Regions from separate parts of the Homo sapiens genome. Here region 2 is linked to region 1. Evidence: promoter capture Hi-C in human tissues and cell types (Jung and others, 2019). All regions are on one chromosome and are shown on one strand. The core of a region is centred on a gene start or on the middle of the fragment in contact, and the rest is flanking DNA. Distances in the headings are between cores, read along the strand shown. Region 1 holds the start of AMPD1 (adenosine monophosphate deaminase 1). Region 2 has its middle 18 kb from the start of TSHB.

What was found. Contacts are between HindIII fragments. The study calls those that stand out against the background at their distance.
Region 2: a fragment that was not itself captured here is called in contact with the fragment with the promoter of AMPD1 in region 1 in 1 of the 25 tissues and cell types used here (H1 embryonic stem cells).

Annotation. Positions count from the first base shown.
Region 1 is chr1:114,693,887-114,696,913 of GRCh38, forward strand. AMPD1 (adenosine monophosphate deaminase 1) reads right to left here and starts at 1,660. Exons shown (of 16, transcript NM_000036.3): 1 at 1,564-1,660. The coding sequence starts at 1,585. The HindIII fragment of the contact is 10,350 bases long and covers 1-3,027 here.
Region 2 is chr1:115,010,818-115,013,824 of GRCh38, forward strand. No RefSeq gene overlaps it. Among named protein-coding and RNA genes, the nearest start is that of TSHB, 18 kb to the right of the region's middle. The HindIII fragment of the contact is 4,334 bases long and covers 1-3,007 here.

The sequences.
Region 1 (3,027 bases), core at 410-2,909:
AGAACATACTTATACTTAAAAAAACCATAAAGAGGCCGGGTGCAGTGGCTCACGCCTATAATCCTGGTACTATGGGAGGCCGAGGCTGGCAGATCATGAGGTCAGGAGATCGAGACCATCCTGGCTAATACAGATATTCACTGTGTTATATGTGAAACACCGTCTCTACTAAAAATATAAAAATTAGCCGGGCGTGGTGGCAGGCGCCTGTAGTCCCAACTACTCGGGAGACTGAGGCAGAATGGCATGAACCCGGGAGGTGGAGCTTGCAGTGAGCCAAGATCGCACCACTGCACTCCAGCCTGGGTGACAGAGCGAGACTCTGTCTCTAAAAAAACAAAAACAAAAACAAAAACGAACAAACAAAAAAAAACCCCCAAACCATAAAGAACCTAAGGGATTAATTAAGAAAATAGAATATGCAGTCTTTTAAAATGGTTTTTAGGAAAGGTTTGGGATACCATGGTAAAAGGATAAGTTGTAAAGTTAAGCCAAAACATTATCCTGCCAAAAGCAGGATATAAAATTACATGTGCAATATAATAACAGTGCCTTTTTAAAAAAAACTCTTTAATTTTACACAGAAAATAGATTGAAAAGAAAAAAAAACACTAAAATGTTAAGAGTGAATATCTTTGGATAATGGATGTGCAGATTTTTAAAATTATTACTTTTGGCTGGGTGCAGTGGCTAACACTTGTAATCCCAGCACTTTGGGAGGCTGAGGCAGGCAGATTGCTTGAGCTCAGGAGTTTAAGATGAGCCTGGGCAACATAGCGAAACCCTGTCTCTACAGAAAATACAAAAACTAGCTGGGCGTGGTGGCAAGTGCCTGTAGTCCCAGCTACTCGGGAGGCTGAGGTGGGAGGATCACCAGATCCCAGAAGATTGGGGCTGCAGTGAATCGTGATCGTGCCACTGCACTCCAGCCTGGGCAACAGAGTGACACCCTGTCTCAAAAAATAAATAAATAAGTAAAAAATAAAATTATTACTTTTACTGAATTTCCCAACTTTCAAAACGAATGTTTATTACTTTTATTTTTTCAGCACAATTTCTATTTCACATGAAACATGTATTGCTTTTATCATTTAAAAATTATAACATTATTATTTTAAAAATTACTCTGCGTACAAACCTGGACAACAGAAAGCTATTCTCGTGAACCATCAGAATACACACATGGGTTATTTTTGTCATGTTCATGATTTTCAGCCAATACCATAGCTAGAGTCATTATGTAGAAGCCGTCTCAGAGCTATGGCAGCACAGGTTTTGTTTAGACTAGCAGAATAGATATTAAATATTTCACAGAGTTTTCTACTGGGATCATCAAAGATGCAATATACATGATAACAGTTTTAGAAACTTACCCACATCCCAAAACTAAAAACAAACAAAAAACCCTTGAAAATATTTTGTGTTTTCCTGAAATGTATGTTAAAGCTATCACGAACCCTAAATGAATGATCAAAGCTGATATGGTAGCTAAAGGAACAGTTGCTTGTCAAAAAAAAAAAAAAACAACAACAACTGAGCTCTCCAAACACTTTGTACACCTACCTGGGAGTTTGAACAGAGGCATTGTTGCTGAAATCCTTGATTCTAGGATAGCACAGTAGAAAAGAAGAGAGAGGAGACTGTGGGGTGACTGACTGACACTATAAAATATCCTGACATTCATTTTATTATTTTGCTTTGCCCCCGGAAATTTGATTCTTCTCTGCTAAGTGGAGAGAGATGAGCTTTGGACCTATTTATAGCTTGAGGCATTTGATAGTGAAAAACAGGTGAAGCTTTCAGTCTTTACTTTGGGATTAGAAGATATCTGTGGTGGGCCAAAAATTGCATTTCAATACTCTCTAAATCTTCTTACAGACTGGATCTTTGGCAAGTGTAGGACCACTGATGGTGATATCCCACCCTAGTGAAATACAGTGAAGTCTTTCCGGTTTCTGAAGCTATGATCCTCAGGGTTTCACATCACGCAAACAGCTTTCTGTGGTTGGTGAATATGCTGGTACATTCATCAAGCTCTCAACAGACACACACGCACACGCACACACGCTCAGGAATGCATGTTTTTATTAGTAATGTGTCTGACTTAGCAGAACTTCAGTTGACAGTTTAATGAATTAAGTGTTAAATTTACTTCAAGTCTTTTACAGAAACTCAACTGTCCTCCAGAGTATCCAGTTACCACTTCTCTACCTATTGTTATAATAAGAACAATAGCTTTGTTTTGTATAACATTTTATTGTATGTAAAACATTTGGCAAACATTATCTATTTGATACTAATTACAATCCTGTAAGGCAAGTAATACCTTATCCCTGTTTCCCAAATAAGAAAACTGGGGCTCTGACAGGTATCTTGCTCAAAGTCATTCTGTTCATCATAAATGGCAAAGCCAAGGCTCTCTGGACCCAAATCTCACGCTCTTTCCATAATAACACACAGTCTTAGTTATGACTGTATATATGTGTGTGTATATATATGTATATATGTATATATATGTGTATATACATATATTTTTTTCGAGACAGAGTCTCGCTCTGTTGCCCGGGCTGGAGTGCAGTGGCGCGATCTCGGCTCACTGCAAGCTCTGCCTCCCGGGTTCACGCCATTCTCTTGCCTGAGCCTCCCGAGTAGCTGGGACTACAGGCGCCTGCCACCATGCCCGGCTAATATTTTTTGTATTTTTAGTAGAGATGTGGTTTCACTGTGTTAGCCAGGATGGTCTTGATCTCCTGACCTCATGATCCACCTGCCTTGGCCTCCCAAAGTGCTGGGATTACAGGCGTGAGCCACTGCGCCCGGCCAGTTATGACTAAATATTTGATAGTTGCTGCTAGGTAAAGAAAGTACGCTGCTAGACTCAGCAGAAATTTTAAATTATAACAGCTTATATTGAAGATGAGCTTGGCACTTCAGATTAGCAACAGAATTATGGGCATAGACCAAATGATCTTTTTACTATTAACTATTTCTTTTTGAAAATTGGGACAAGCCTTTTTGTTGGCAAAA
Region 2 (3,007 bases), core at 349-2,848, 320 kb after region 1:
CCTCCCAAAGTGCTGGGATTACAGGCATGAGCCACTGTGCCCGGCCTGACCTTCAACCTTTTACCAGAGTAATTGTGCATTAAGGAAAGGGAAATGATCAGATCTTTCAGGGAATACTGGACACTGGCTCTGAGCTGACATTGATTCCAAGGGACCCAAAACATCACTGTGGTCCTCCAGTTAAAGTAGTGGCTTATGGAGGTCAGGTAATTAATGGAGTAAATTAAACCTCTTTTCTTCATAAATTACTCACTCTCAGGTAGTTCTTTCTAGCAATGTGAGAATGGACTAATACAGAAAATTGGTACTAGAAGAGTGGGACACTGCTATAAAGATATTTGAAAATGTGGAAGTGACTTTGGAACTGGTAATGAGCAGAGGTTGGAACAGTTTGGAGGACTCAGAAGAAGACAGGAAGATATGTGAAAGCTTGGAACTTCCTAGAGATTTGGTGAATGCTTTTGACCAAAATGCTGATAGTGATATGGAAAATGAAGTCCAGGCTGAGGGTGACATGCTTGGCCATGTGAAGAGACCACCAAACAGGCTTTATGTGAGCAACAAAGCTTTTTAATCACCTGGGTGCAGGTGGACTGAGTCCAAAAAAGGAGTCAGCAAAGGGAGATGGGGTGGGGCAGTTTTATAGGATTTGGGTAGATAGTGGAAAATTACAGTCAAACAGGGGTTTTCTCTTGTGGACAGGGGTGGGGGTTATAGGGTGCTCAGTGGGGAGCTTCTGAGACTCATTGTCCAGGAGAAGGAATGTCACAAGGTCAATTGATCAGTTAGGGTGGGGCAGGAACAAATCACAATGGTGGAATGTCATCAGTTAAGGCCGGAACTGGCTATTTTCACTTCTTTGGTGTTCTTCAGTTGCTTTGGGCCATCTGGATGTATACATGCAGGTCATAGGGGATATGATGCCTTAGCTTGGACTCAGAGGCTTGACAGAGGGTGTCTCAAATGGAGATGAGGAACTTATTAGAAACTGGAGTAAAGGTTACTCTTGCTATGCTTTAGCAGAGACTGGCAGCATTTTGCCCCAGCCCTAGAGATCTGTGTAAGTTTGAACCTGAGAGAGATGATTTAGGGTATCTGATAGAAGAAATTTCTAAGCAGCAAAGCCTTGAAAATGTGACCTGGAGGCTCCTAAAAGCCTATGCTCATTTGCATAAAGAAAGAGATGGTCTGAAATTGGAACTTATATTTAAAAGGGAAGCAGAGCGTAAAAGTTTGGAAAATTTGCAGCCTGACCATTTGATGGAATAGAAAAATCCATTTTCTGGAGAGGAATTCAAGCTCAAGCTGGCTGTAGAAATTTGAATAAGTAAAGAGGAACTGAATGTTAATAGTCAAGACAATGGGGAAATGTCTCTGGGGCATTTCAGAGACCTTTGAGGTAGCACCTCCCATCACTCAGGAGGCCTAGGAGGGAAAAATGGTTTCCTGGGCCAGGCACAAGGCCCTGCTGCTCTCTGCAGCCTCAGGATATGGTGACTTGCATCACAGCCATTCCAGCTCCAGCCATGGCTAAAAGGGGCCAAGGTACAGTTCAGGCCATTGCTTCAGAGAGTGCAAGCCCCAAGCCTTGGTGACTTCCATGTGGTGTTGCAGGGGTGGAGCCCTCATGAAGAACCTCTACTAGGGCAATGTGGAAAGGAAATGTAGGATTGGAGCCCCCACACAGAGTCTTCACTGGGGCACTGCATAGCAGAGCTGTGAGAAGAGGGCCACCATCCTCCAGACCCCAGAATGGTAGATCCACTGACAGCTTGCACTTTGTGCCTGGAAAAGCTACAGGTACTCAGTGCCATCCTGTGCAGAGCCATGGGGTGGAGCTGCCCAAGGCCATGGGCGCCCACCCCCTGCTTGCTTCAGTGTGTCCTGGATGTAAGACATGGAGTCAAATGAAATTATTTCAAAGCTTTAAGATTTGATGGCTGCCCTGCTGAGTTTCAGACTTGCATGGAGCATGTAGCCCATTTGTTTGGCCAATTTCTCCTTTTTGGAATGGGAATATTTACCCAATGCCTGCACCCCCAATGTATCTTGAAGTAACTAACTTGTTTTTTATTTTACAGGCTCATAGATGGAAGAGACTTGCCTTGTCTCAGATGAAACTTTGGACTTGGACTTTCAAGTTAATGCTGGCATGACTTAAGACTTTGGGGGACTGTTGGGAAGGCATAATTGGTTTTGAAATGTGAGAAGGACATGAGATTTGGGAGGGGCCAGGGGTGGAATGATATGGTTTGGATTTGTGTTCTCACCCAAATCACACATTGAAGCAAAGGAGGAACCTAGTGGGAAGTAATTGGATCTTGGGGGCAGAATTCCCCCTTGCAATCATAAGTTCTCACAAGACCTGATGGTTTAATAGTGTGTGGCACTTACCTCTTCTCTTTCTCACTCTCTCTGCTGCCACCATGTGAAGAAGGTGCTTGCTTCCCCTTCACCTTCTGCCATGATTGTAGGTTTCATGAGGGCTCCCAGTCATGCTTTCTGGTATAGTCTGTGGAACTGTGAGTCAATTAAACCTCTTTTCTTCACAAATTACCAAGTCTCAGGTAGTTCTTTCTAGCAGTGTGAGAACAGACTAATATATAGTGTAAGAAACTTACTTACAGAAATATATTTCTATTTCTTATTCCTATTCTCTCTTTTATTCTTGACATACTATTTACTTCTACAAACACCACAATAATTACTAATTTTGCTTTAAGCTGTCAATTTTCTTTTTAAGAAAATTGAGGTAAACTTTACACAAGGAAAGTAACCATTTTAAAGTGAAGAGCTCAGTGGCATTTAATACATTCACAATGTTATGCAACCACAACATCTCTCTAGTTCCAAAACATTTTTATCACCCCAAAAGAAAACTCTGTACTCATTAAGCTGTTATTTTCCATTCCCTACTCTCTCCAGCCTCTGGTAACCACCAGTCAGCTTTTTGTCTCCATGCATTAACCTATTATACATATGTCATATAAATGCACTCATACAATAT